Linked DNA regions of Homo sapiens: all the other regions are linked to region 1. Evidence: promoter capture Hi-C in 16 types of primary human blood cells and fetal thymus (Javierre and others, 2016). All regions are on one chromosome and are shown on one strand. Each heading gives the region's core, a stretch centred on a gene start or on the middle of the fragment in contact. The rest is flanking DNA. Distances are from core to core; before and after follow the strand shown. Region 1 holds the start of BAZ2B (bromodomain adjacent to zinc finger domain 2B). Region 2 has its middle 68 kb from the start of TANC1. Region 3 overlaps TANC1 (tetratricopeptide repeat, ankyrin repeat and coiled-coil containing 1).

Evidence for each region. Contacts are between HindIII fragments. The CHiCAGO score rates a contact against its expected background, and 5 or more counts as called.
Region 2: a contact is called between a fragment that was not itself captured here and the fragment with the promoter of BAZ2B in region 1, in 1 of 17 cell types (erythroblasts). The highest score is 5.6, in erythroblasts.
Region 3: a fragment that was not itself captured here is called in contact with the fragment with the promoter of BAZ2B in region 1 in 1 of 17 cell types (erythroblasts); the score reaches 5.1 in erythroblasts.

What each region holds. Positions count from the first base shown.
Region 1 is chr2:159,613,894-159,618,271 of GRCh38, reverse strand. It overlaps BAZ2B (bromodomain adjacent to zinc finger domain 2B), which reads left to right and starts at 1,724. Exons shown (of 37, transcript NM_013450.4): 1 at 1,724-2,030. It overlaps BAZ2B-AS1 (BAZ2B antisense RNA 1), which reads right to left and starts at 2,978. Exons shown (of 2, transcript NR_110588.1): 1 at 2,819-2,978; 2 at 230-2,522. RefSeq lists enhancers at 1,635-1,704, 1,955-2,034, 1,662-2,188, 3,245-3,773. The HindIII fragment of the contact is 3,593 bases long and covers 488-4,080 here.
Region 2 is chr2:158,898,691-158,903,068 of GRCh38, reverse strand. No RefSeq gene overlaps it. Among named protein-coding and RNA genes, the nearest start is that of TANC1, 68 kb to the left of the region's middle. The HindIII fragment of the contact is 4,470 bases long and covers 257-4,378 here.
Region 3 is chr2:159,053,251-159,057,628 of GRCh38, reverse strand. The region is part of intron 2 of TANC1 (tetratricopeptide repeat, ankyrin repeat and coiled-coil containing 1); the gene reads right to left. It also overlaps the pseudogene GSTM3P2. Among named protein-coding and RNA genes, the nearest start is that of TANC1, 87 kb to the right of the region's middle. The HindIII fragment of the contact is 1,239 bases long and covers 1,628-2,866 here.

The DNA of each region.
Region 1 (4,378 bases), core at 475-2,974:
TTTTACTGTAGAGACAGTTTGCTGCTAAAAGAGAAATTGTATGTCATTGAAATTAAATGCTTTTCTGGGGATGGAAGATTCCAGTTTTTAATGAAATTACTGAGTGTGGTGTAGTGAAATGATTAAAATCTGTATTCCGGGAATGTGGCAGGGAAAAAAAATCAATAAGTGCTAGCACAGCTTTGCTGCTCAATGTGAATCCTGAGAATGAAATAAACTACTACAAAAATAATAATTAAAAACATATCAGCACATTAATTTATTTAGCATCAGTCTCCTGAGACATCATCTTCACTAATTTTTAGCATACATTTTACTCTGTAATGAGCAGCCTTCTTTTCAGATATCCCTATTAGACAGGCAGTATTTCTGCCCTTCCCCCAGTGCTCCTGCATTGCAATCATTGTACTTGCACTTATTATGTTACAAATGACCGAGGTAAGGCTGACATTCTCAGTGCATGCAAAAAGACCGAGTCTGCCAAGCTTTTTTTTTTTCCTAATGAAGCAGCTTTGTGAAATCTCCCCATGTGTTAATACTAATGAAGATCCTCCAGCACAATTAAAATCACAGCCAGTGGCTGAAGAGGAAACATAAAACAATAGCATCTTTTAAGATACATTTATCCACATATGTATAAAATATACATAGATGATCAAATTATTCTCCGATAGCTTAATTTTTACTTACTCTTCATCCTGAAAATTAAATTATGCAATTTTTAATTATATGAACTTTGAGACTTTCTTGTGTTCTGGAGGGAAAAAACGGTACCTCAACGAACTTCTAAAAAAAAAAATACGTATCTTCTTGGCTAATAAAGTGTTATCAAGATTAAGGCTTTTAAAAAAATTGTTTTTAGGAATCTATAGGATGGGGTGCGGGAGGGAATGGGGCCTATTGTATCTTTAGTTTAACTTGATTGGTTGCAGGATTTGGGAATTGGGGTTGGGGGAGTGGAAGGGTAAAAACAAAGTTGGAAGAGATTCTGGGGGTAGACCATAGCATATGACTGCATTTGTAGTTTAAAGGAGCAAAGGGCTACCAGTCTTACTCATAACTTGATTTTTAAAAAGTGTTCAGTGCCTACAATTTGCTATGCTTTTTTTCTAATCTCTCAGAAACTTGAAAAAAAGCTATCGAGATTACCTTTTACAGTGTGTGCATATAACTTTAAAACGACTATTTTAACGTCTTTTATTTAAATTTTATTTTAACTTAGTGCATAAACATTACAGCCAGTTTAACTTGTCCGTGGAAAGGCAGTAGAATTTTACCCCGGGACCGTCTTGCATACTGCTTTTTTTGAGTTTTAACATCCGCAAAATCTTGGCATATTAATTTAGTTGGGTTGTAGAATTCTGAGTTTAGGAACAAAAAAAATTTAGGTGGAGATGGTTGACCTATGCTCCCTACTCTGTAGCTTTTGTTTTTTTAAAAACTAAGTTTTAAATCCCGTTTTCTGTCCTGTCTTCTTTAAAAGCAAAACAAAACATTTTAAGTTTCTTAACTTTTTCCTGGGACAAGGAACGGTGCAAACTCAAAGCTACAGTATTCTTGGAAAGAAGAAGCAACCCCCTCCCTTGGCTCCTTTAGGAGCTGATAGGTCATTTATTATTGGAACTGAAATGGTATAAACAATTCTCTCTCTTTTTTTCCCTTGTTAACAGCAACTTTCATTGTTAGAGAGAGGAGAGAGAGAGAAGCCTTGTTGGTTGACGTCACTTGGTTCATGAAGCCTTCGCCTAGAAGTGAAGCTGCTGAACAAACCTTGAGAAGAATCATCTCCTGCTTCAATCTGCTGCTGGATAGGAACTAATCAGAGAGAGAGAGGCGGAAGACGGAGAAGGAGGGAGTCGAAGGCTTTCCCGATCACAAATCTCACCTCCACTACAACTCTCTTTATACTTTTCTTGCAGAAATAATAATAGAAATAAGGAGGTGGTGGGGTTTCCAAAAATCTTAACCTTCAACCATCTGGGGAAAAGGCAAAAATCCCATCTACCGCAACTCTCAGTTCGAGAGTAAAGGTGAGTTTAAAATCCTCGGGCGTGAGGGGTGCGGGTGAGGATGTAAATTCCCAGTGTTACAAAGCCGGTGGAAACAGCAGCGGAGAAACTGCGCTCGGGCAAGCGGGGGACTCCGGAGTTGCTGCGTGGAGGCGCTCGCCCCGCCGCCCTCTCGCCCTCCGCCGCTGTTTATCCTCGCCGGTCGGTGCGGCTCTTTGTTGTGGTGGCCGGAAGGCTGGGGTGGTTCTCGGGGTCCCGAGTGGAGTTTGGGGGAGGAGGACACGGAGATGTGCCGTCCTGGGTGGGAGGTGGGGGGTGCGGCCTCAGGAGAACGTAAACTTTATTCCTAGAAGCCGGTGCGGGACTTCGCTGGAGTAGGGCCGTGGGTTGTGCTCCCGGCCGGGCAGGCGCTGCCGCCGCGAGTCCGCCGCCTTTGTGCCGGCCGCCCTGGCTTCGCGTCTCCTTCCTCTTCCCCTTCGGCTTCCAGCGCTCAGGTCGCCGCCAACAGTTTTGCTTCTTAAAAAACAACCTCTGTCAGCGTTGCGATGGCCGTTCCTACCCCGGAATATCCGCTGCTCCCCCACTCCCTGCCGGGGTAGTTTCTGGATCACCCCCCACCCCCGTCCGCCTCCTGCTGCCCTTTTTTGCCTCCGCCCCCTCTTCCCTGTCGGACTGACGAGCTGCGTCTGCCACCCCCACTCCCCGGCTTGGGCCTCTAGCTCTCCCGTGTGTAGCTGGAGGCTCTGAGTTTACTGAAGATGAGCGGGGGTGGGGGTGGGGCAGGTGGGATTGGGAAAAGATCTGGATACCTGGGAAGGTCTATGTCAGCACGCAGAAGGTTTGAGGAGCATTGCTTCTCATACAGTAAGGTCTGTGCCTTGGTCTCATGTTTTAGCAGTTCTTCCCCGGGAACGACCGCCAGCTCCCAACTCCTCTGCTTCCCTCTTTTAATCTTCTTGTCGCTACCCCTCCCCCCAGCCCCCGTTCTCTTTCGCGGCTCCCTCCCCTTTAAGTAGTTTCACGAACCCCAGAATTGGGATTTGAGAAGGGGAAGGAAGTGTTTGAAGAGTCAGAGCTGGCTCTGTTGTTTGGGAGATTTTCTCTTCTTTTCTTTCTCCCTCTGTATTTATCTTTTGTCTGTTGCTTCCTTATAAAGAGGGAAGCAGCTGCAGTCCTTGGCCGAGTTGTTGAAATTTATCCCTTTGTGTATATTACAATATCCTCCATTTTTTTTCCTGCCCTCTAAACAACAAGCGTTTCGCCATCTTGGGCAATTTTATTCCCAAGTCTCTCTCTTTTTTATTTTTGAGGAAAGGAAAGAAGTATTAGGAAGTGTGTCTGGATAAGTCTCAAAGTTTAGGGAATGTTCAGGGGGCCCAGTGACGTCATGTAAACTTTACGGAGAAATTTTCCCAAGAGTAAATTTTTTGCTTAATTTTTCTCCTGTTTTATAGGATTGTGTAACTTACAGGTTACTGATAAGTTGTGTGGCTTATTTTTGTGTTTTGCTCTCAAAATCAGTATACGAAGTCTGCGTATTGTATGTTTTGGTAACAGGTGGAAGATTATATGCAAAAAATGGTAAAAAACTTGTGCGTCATTTGTTATTTATCTGGTTTTTGTGTACTTTTTTTTTTAATTTAAAGGTTTCAACTGTTATCTGTAGTCAGTATATTCCCTTTCTTATTTGCTCCACTCTCCCTTATGGATTTTTTGAAAATTAGCTTGGTTAATATTTATGTATGGTTATTTTAGATTATCTGGCTCCCCGTTTCTAATAAAATGTTCTGGGGTTTTCTTTTTCTATTATTTATTTACATTTTGAAAAGAAATGACTATGGAAAATACCTTAAGATAATGGATACTTTAAAATTTAGTAGCAGATATTAAGTCAAACAATTATTGAGTATTTAAGAGGCAGAATTGATTTTAAAAGTTATTTTATAATCGCTAGCTATAAACTCTTTGTCAGCCATTATGAACAGATAAACAAAAACTAGCACTGTTTTAATTTGCTTGTCTAACATAGTTTTTCGCCTCACAAAAGTTGGTTTGGTCACATGACCAAGCTTAATGATACACTGACTAGTATATAAATAAGAGGCACTGTATATTGAATGGGAAAGTGGAATTCTGTCTCCTGTAGTCATTTTCAGTCAGCATATTTACATCTCTTCTAACAAGGACATGAAACTGTCTGTATTTAATTTGCATTCTCTTTGTCTTCTGGGTTGAGGGAAAAACACTGACTACAATTAACTTAAAAAAAGCTAATAGAAACAATTCTGAATACATTGAAAAGGTTTGTGTAACACACAGAAATTTATGTTCTATATGGTAAGTTTTTATTTCTGTAGCAGTCTTCTTTG
Region 2 (4,378 bases), core at 1,242-3,741, 720 kb after region 1:
CAGCAGAGACCAGCTTAGGGAGAATACAGATGCTAGCTTTAATCTGTGGAAGTCTATCCAGAAATAAACAAGGGATGACACCTTGTACACAATCACAGAAGAAACTTGAAGTTTTTGAATGATCCAAAAGAAATATTCACTTTCAACAAGAAAGCGAGTTTTAAAGGGGCACCAATTGTTTGCATTGTCTTTAAAGGAAGATTAAATTCTCCACTTAACTGCATATCCAGTTTGGTTTTCAGGTAGAGGCAAAGCTTTAAAACTGTGGTGAGCAGTATGTGGCCAGGAGCCTTGCCAGCTTTGGGAAGAACCAGAAAATGCAATTCCATGTTGCCATTTCTCTCTCTCTCTCCTTTTTTTTTTTGAGACAAAGTCTTACTCTGTCACCCAGTCTGGAGTGCAGTGGTGCGATCTCAGCTCATAGAAACCTCCGCCTCCCAGATTCAAGCGATTCTCCTGCCTCAGCCTACCAAGTAGCTGGAATTATAGACACACGCCACCACACTCGGCTAATTTTTGTATTTTTAGTAGAGATAGGGTTTCGCTAAGTTGGCCAGGCTGGTCTCGAACTCCTGACCTCAAGTAATCCAACTGCCCTGGCCTCCCAAAGTGCTGGGATTACAGGCATGAGCCACCCCATAGGGCCGCTGTTTCTCAAATGTGCCTTAAGGTAAACAATCAATGACAAAATACCAGTGCCAAGTTTTTATTCCAAGTCTAACAATAATATCATTAGTAATTATAAAAAGAATATTAAAATAGTACTAACAAAAGCATATATTTTACCAAGTGTCAAGCATTGTGCTAATTGCTTATGTGCATTTACTCTTCAACCATGGGACTAATATTGCTAGCTCCACTTTACAGATGAGAAAACTGAGGCCAAGAAAAGTAAATCTGCCCAAATTTGGAGCATGCTCACTATGTGCTATGCAGTCACTGTTCTAATTGAATGATCATAGATACTGTTATTACCATTATTTTACAGATGCTGAAACAGAGGTTAAACACTTTCCCATGGTCACACGGCTGTTAAGAGTCGAGGTAACATTCAAACCTAGTCACTCCAGTCCTACACTCTGAGCACTTCATGTCTAAATTTGTCTAACCAGTTAAATATACACATTTCTCATGGAATTTGGTAACGGTATTTTTTTTTTTTTTTTGAGATGGAGTCTGGCTCTGTCGCCCAGGCTGGAGTGCAGTGGCACAATCTCTGCTCACTGCAAGCTCCGCCTCCCGGGTTCACGCCATTCTCCTGCTTCAGCCTCCCGAATAGCTGGAACTACAGGCGCCCGCCACCTCGCCCGGGTAATTTTTTTTGTATTTTTAGTAGAGACGGAGTTTCACCGTGTTAGCCAGGATGGTCTCGATTTCCTGACCTCGTGATCCAACCGCCTCGGCCTCCCAAAGTGCTGGGATTACAGGTGTGAGCCACCGCGCCTGGCCGGTAACGGTATTTTTATTTTGAGTTTTTATAAAGTGGGGCCTAAATTGTTTTGCCTACACTGGTCATTCTAACCAAATGGCTGTTTATCACTGCAGCACTTAGTCTCAGGAATGTGCTGCCGCCAACTGGATGCTTGGGCTTTTTTTCTGGTCTATACTACCCTCTAGTGGTTGATAGAAAAATTCGATGATAGGCTATTTAATGACAAAGAGAGAAATAGAATGCTGTCCACTAATGAGGACTCCTTTTAAGCATAAGGGTAAGACATGAACCTGCATGTAATAGTATTTGTACTTTTTGTATCTTTTGATTGAGAAAAATACATAAAGACTAAAAGATTCTATGAATTTAGTACCTCATTTATGTGAACGTGTATTTTTATTTTTATTAATCTCAATAGTATACACATACATAAGAAACAAGGTGATATATATCTTTGTGTGTGTATATATACATATGTGCTATATACATGTGTTATACAATATATGTGTTTTATACATATATATGTATGTATGTATGTATATAACATACACCTTATTTGTTTAGCTATAGACAATGCCTGGAGTGCATTGATGGATTTAGAAGCCCCCAAATTAGACTTCCCTCAAACTTCTTTGGCTAGATTTTCAACAAATACCCACTCCTAAACCATTACAGGCAAGGAGAAATTAACTCAAAATTTTAGATTAATTAGTATATTCTCCTGAATTGGGCATAGTCCCCTGGCCTGAGAGGTGGAGATGTGAAGATAATTGGGATTGTCTTTTTTTTTTTTGAGAGAGTCTCACTGTGTCACCCAGGCTGGAGTGCAGTGGCGCAATCTTGGCTCACTGCAACCTCTGCTTCCTGGGTTCAAGCGAGCTTTGTGCCTCAGCCTCCTGAGCAGCTGGGATTACAGGCTGGTGCTGTCCCCATCACGCCCAGCTAATTTTTGTATTTCAGTTTCACCATGTTGGCCAGGCCAGGCTGGTCTGAAACTTCTGACCTCAAGTGATCTGCCCACCTCGGCCTCCCAAAGTGCTGGGATTACAGGCACGAGCCACCGTGCCCGGCCGGGATGGTCTGGACAAGGAAGAAGTCCTGCTGCAGGGGTGGCTGCAGTCTTACCCGAGTCTCCCTCCTGGGCGACCTCAGGAGGTGGGGGACTGGGGGCAGGCCCATGGGAGCATCCTCCCTGTGCAGGCACTAAGGTGGGCATTACCTGAAGGAAACTGAAAAACAATAGTAAAACTAACTAAAAGGTGGCCTGTGCTTTATTATCACCATCAAACAGTGATTCTAAACAGCAATGATAAACTAATTCTCCCTGAACATTTTTCATTTAAGTTCTAAACAAGGACTTTGCTTTCTTTCCATTTTTAACTATGTATGCTTCCAATTAGCACGTTTTCATTATATATCCTTTCACAAACATTCTGTTCTACGTCATGGAAGTCAATTTGGAGAATTTCCAGTTACGCAGTTGGCCTATGACATATGCAGCTACAAGCATTTGTTTCAGGAGTAAGTTCATGATAAATTGTAACTATCAGACCTCAGATTGGGCACAGTTCTACCATGTATTTCTGAGTCTAAAGTGTACATTTGAAATGATCAGTGATAATACAGTGATAGTAAAGACAAAGAAACAGAGCTTGGGTAACTTTAATTCTGTCATTCTACGTGACTTCACAAACATATTAACAAACAGCCAGAATCAACCTAGAACAGTGTACAGTGAAATTGTTTACTGCAGATGGGTACATAGACTTCAAGAAGACCATTAACTCTGCAAAAACAAAATATAAGGAAATGGACATTTCAAAGAAAAATGTCAGGAGAAACAACAAAAGATGCAGGCCTTACATGGCCAGAAGAAATCAAAAAGACAATTTTGAATGCCTGAGTTATTTTCAGCAAGAACTGGACATTCATTCTAAAATAAAGGATCAAATACGATGAACATTTACTATCACTCAGCCACTTTCTCTGATTTTTGCAAAAGAATAACTTGAGAAGTTTTAACTAAATGCAGAAGAAATTTATCATGAATTTCCTGGTGAGGATACTTGAGGGAATTTTTTTTTCACTGCAGAGATGTTTGAAAACTGCTATAATTCATCCTCAAGAAATTACATGGACTGTATTACAATCTCAGATTGACTTTGACATGGAATTTTTATGAATCAATCTCACCTTGATGCTTAAGTTTTTTCTTAACTATTTGTGTTTCTTAACTATTTGTGTTTTTCTTAACTATTTGTGCTTTTCAAAATTAAAGTAATTAAAATATTATTTGTTTAATATGAATGAAGAAGTTTGATTTTCACAGTTCTTGACAAATTTGTAGAAGGCTTGAAAATAGAAACCATAATCCTATTCATTAGTGCAACAGACCAAATGTACGTATGTGTTTGCCTTCTTTTTTTTTATTTTTGAGACAGAGTCTTGCTTTGTTGCCCAGGCTGGAGGCAGTGGTGTAATCACTGCTCACTGAAGCCTTGACCTCCTGGGCTCAAGTGATCCTTTCACCTCAGCCTCCTGAGTAGCTGGGACTACAGAGGCATACCACCACACCCAGCTATTTTTTTTTTTTTTTAGAGATGGGGTCTCACTATGTTGCCCAGGTTGTTCTCCAACTCCTGGGCTCAAGTGATTCTTCCATCTCGACCTCCTAAAGTGATGGGATTACCTCTGTGAGCCACAATGCCTGGCTTGCCTTTTTTTTTTTTTTTTTTTTACATGATTGTGTTTTAAAGGTATCAATCCATTACATGTTTCCCTTTTTGTCCTGTATACTTTTTTATTAAAAAATTTAAAAATTGACTCGATTATATTGTTGGCTGCTGTGGAGGTTACGATCTTGATGAAATCTTAATAGCAGGGAAGCCAGAGGTGGGGATATTTATGAGGTTTCTGGGGTCTATGTTTAAGGTGGGTCTTTCAATG
Region 3 (4,378 bases), core at 998-3,497, 560 kb after region 1:
ATTATTGTACCTAAAAACAGACTGTTATCCTTTAATAACTTTAAGTAAAATTAATATCCTTCTACAGGCTATGAGCAATGGAGAAACTTGCCCTGGCTCTCCTGGACCAGCAAGTGGCAGAAATTGGGTTACAACCTAATTTTCCAATTAAGGAATGAGTGTTGGGTTAGCAATTGCAGGTTTTCATTCGACATACATCTGTACGTTGCTACCCTGTGCCAAACAACAAGGGACACAAAGGCAAGTACAACTGACAGAGGAGGAAGACAACATGTGGACAAACATGAGCAGGAAGCTAAAAACATTCATGCCTCCATTTTGTCTACAAGGTAAAAACAAGGTAAGAGGTGCAGTGAAGGTTCAGGATAGCCCTGTAGATGAGAGGAAGGCAAGTAAGAGATTAAAAGGACAGCTGGCTGGGCATGGTGGCTCACGCCTGTAATCCCAGCACTTTGGGAGGATCGTTTGAGCCCAGGCCTTTGAGACCAGCCTGGGCAACAGAAGGAGATTCTCAGAAAAACCAAAAACAATAAAACGGACAGCTGAACAGCTCTGATCATCCAAACTAGGCTGCAGACCAGGCCATAACACCCGATTATGAAACTGCTCCTATCCTCAAAGGCTCACAAGTAGCATCATCATATCGTGCAACTCATCTATGGTTCTGGGTTAGTGGAATATTTGCGGGCTGGCACACACCATTTGCCTGCTCCTGTAGTTCACGGATATGTCCTATGAGGAGAAATGGTACACATGCCAGGAAACTCCTATGATTGAAGCCAATGGCTGGATGTGATATTCAAGCTAGACCTGGACTTTCCTAATCTGCCCAACTTCATGGACGGGAAGAACAAGGTCACCCAGAGCAATGCCATCTTGTGCTACACTGCTGGCAAGCACATGTGTGGTAAGACTGAAAAGATTCAAGTGGACATTTTAGAGAACCAAGCAACCAGTTTCTGCACACAACTGATACAGTGCTGTTACAACTCTGACCATGAAAAACTGAAACCTGGCCAGGCGCAGTGGCTCACGCCTCTAATCCCAGCACTTTGGGAGGCTTCTCTTTTCTCGTGGATCACAAGTTCAGGGGATCAAGACCATCCTGGCTAATACGGCGAAACCCCGTCTCTACTGAAAATACAAAAAGTTAGCTGGGCGTGGTGGCGGGCGCCTGTAGTCTCAGCTACTCAGGAGGCTGAGGCAGGAGAATAGCTTGAACCCGGGAGGCGGAGGTTGCAGTGAGCCGAGATCGCACCATTGCACTCCAGCCTGGGCGACAGAGCAAGACTCCATCTCAAAAAAAAAAATAAATAAATAAAATAAATAAAAACCAACCCTGAAACCTCAGTACTTGGAACAGCTACCTGAACAACTGAAACAATTCTCCATGTTCCTGGGAGAAATTCTCATGGTTTGCAGGGGAAAGCTCACCTTTGTGGATTTTCCCATCTATGACGTCCTGGATCAAAAGTGCATGTTTGAGCCCAAGTGCCTGGATGAGTTCCCACATCTTAAGGCTTTCATGTGCCGTTGAGGCTTTGGAGAAAATTGCTGCCTACATGCAGTCTGACTGCTTCTTGAAGATGCCTATCAACAACAAGATGGCCCAGTGGGGCAACAAGCTTTTATGCTGAGCTAGAGGCAGACTTGCACTGCTAGTTTTGTTTCATCCGTCCCTAGGGGGCCTCCACTCTTTTTTGTTCTTTTAAATAAACAGCACTTGGGCTAAAATAAATAAATAAATAAATAAATAAGCTATGCTGTGCAATTCCCTTCTCTGACTCTCAGCCCCAAGAACCATCCAGGGATGGTCCAGAGAATGCAGGATCTGATCAATGATCAGGAGTTCACAGTGCAGGGGCCAGTACAGGAGTGCTCAGAGTGGTGTGCTGTGAAATCAAGGCTGGTCAGGAAGGGAATGAAGCCCTGAGAGGTAGGATAGCCAGAGAGAAAAAGTATGGTGTCTCAAAGAGATCAAAGAACAAACACAGTCGGAATAAATGAATGAGGAAGTTGAAAGAGTCTGGTTCTTTTTAAAGAATTTTTAAAATTTGGATGTGGAACAATTCCAGACAATGATAAAGCCCACAGGATTAGTAAAGGCAAATCTGTGATGTGAACCCAGGCCTGACTTGAAAGCTCAGGCACTGAATAGCTGCCTCCAAAGTCCTCAATGAACTGAGGGTAGGGGGAATAGGGAGGTGATCAGGACAGCACAGAATACACGCCTCAAAGAAAGGGAGGCTTTGCATGAGGATGAAAGTGTAGCAGTTATGGATACCAGCATCACCTCAGGGACCCAGTAGCCATGCAGCTAAAAAGCTCCTGGAGAACCACCTAGGGTTTGAGTATGAACCACAGTCTGATCGTGGTCTCCTCCTCTCACATAACTCAGTAGAAGGCGTGGCTAGGGCCATAGAGTCTTTCTTTGTGTAAGGTTTAGGGCAACCGGAAACCCAAGTCCCAATCCTCCTTATGACAGTTAGCTCCACAACAACCACACTCAGAATTACATTCTCTTTTCCTTTCTCCTTCCTGTTGTTTCCCACTTGTGTCATACAACAGAGCTACAATCCCCAACTTACACTGCCCACCTTCCTGATGTGCAATCGCAACTCCCAGAATACAGGTAGAGGCATTATGTATACAAAGTGATTCTGGACAAGTTGTTATTTCACCAAGAATACTGTTCCCTTTCCTGCTGGACTGGATAATTTCAGGTCTCTTCCACCTGTAGGCATTATAATTTTTAAGGGGGAAACTTTCTTGTTCCTAAGACCACTGTAAGCACAGTACACAATAAACCATCATCACAGATGAAAAAGGAACCCCTCAGAGGAGGCCACTGTATGCGTGATAAGCTTTTACTATGAAAAGAGACCTTGAGGACATTTTCAAAAAGTGTTAAAAGGCACTCAATCAATGCCAGCTGAATGAAATTTGGTATTATAAACCTAAGGAAATTAAAATTTTTAAATTGCACTGGATCTGGCCTCAAAGTGAAGGGTCAGACAGCCTCAAAGATGCCTGTGAAAGGCAGCTATTCATCACAGAATGATCTCTTGCTTATGTAGCTGACAGATGGATCTTTCACTTAATGCCCAGAATATAAGACATCAAAAACGCTCCTCCACTTGCTGAACAAGGTTATAACCTCCCCAGGCCCTAATTTCATTAGGATTGGAGTTCTCAATACCCACGCAGGGTGATTAGAATCACCCACCAGGTGATTCTAATGTGCAGCCAGCACCCCTTATTTACCACTATCCATATGCCTGGCCCTGTTCTAAGCACTTACCATGCATATACTGATTAAATCCTCACAACCACCGTCTGAGGAAGGTACTGTTAATCTCCATTCCACAAAGGCACAGACAAGCTAGTGACTTGCCCAGGGTCACACAACTCAGTGTGCATCCAGGCAGTCTTGATCCCCAGCCTGACCATGCAGTCAGTCTACCAGGCCTCCTTTCAGTTGAAAAGAAGAGAGACCAGCCCCCAGGGAGTGGTGAGAGTCAAAGGCAAAGCTGCTCAACAGGTGGAAAAGATAAATCGGCTTTGGCCAAACATACACACGGCTCACACACACTTCACTCCTAGAGCAGCATCCCATGCTGCAAATCTATCCTGAAAAAAACAAAAACACCTGCCTCCACTGAGAGACATCTACAGTACAGTCCCTCGAGTTATCAGTTATTTCAAACTACAGTGCTGTCCATGTGTGACCTGGAGGCACCATGCAACAGAACACATGCCAAAATGAGCAAGCTCTTGAGTTCATTAGCCCACAGGGGGAGAACCCTGGGAGGTGGGCTACAATGCCAATATGGAGGATTTGGGGAGACAGACACCTTTGTGTCATACAAACAATGCTGCCCCTATTCCTAACACTTACCCAGAAGTTAGCAACTATGGTATTCATGAAAAACCCAGAAAACTGCCTCATTTCTTGTGAATAAATTGTATAAAGCTTGTTACACGGTGACAGGATGCAGTGAGAAATGGCCTGATGATCTCAATGTCTTTCTCTGGGCAATTTTATACAGTCTAATAAATTTAGTGAGGTTTTAACCTTGGATATCAAGTTCTAAATTAAACCAAGATATGCCTGCAGTGATACTGCAGTGGAGAGCTGAATCAAATTCATACAAGCCACACAGCATCATCTCTTCCCATAGCTAAAGCAATGACATCAGCATATGCATCACTGCGCTCTCCTCTGGAATTTGTAAAGGAAATCATTCTTGGCCATAAACATTTGGTTGCAGTAAGCAGTCTCACAGAAGCCTGTGAGAAAGGGCATATGGGCAAGGACAATAGCTTTATTTTTTTCTCTTTTTTTTTTTTCCCTTAAGCTCTGTTGGACTTGAAGGCT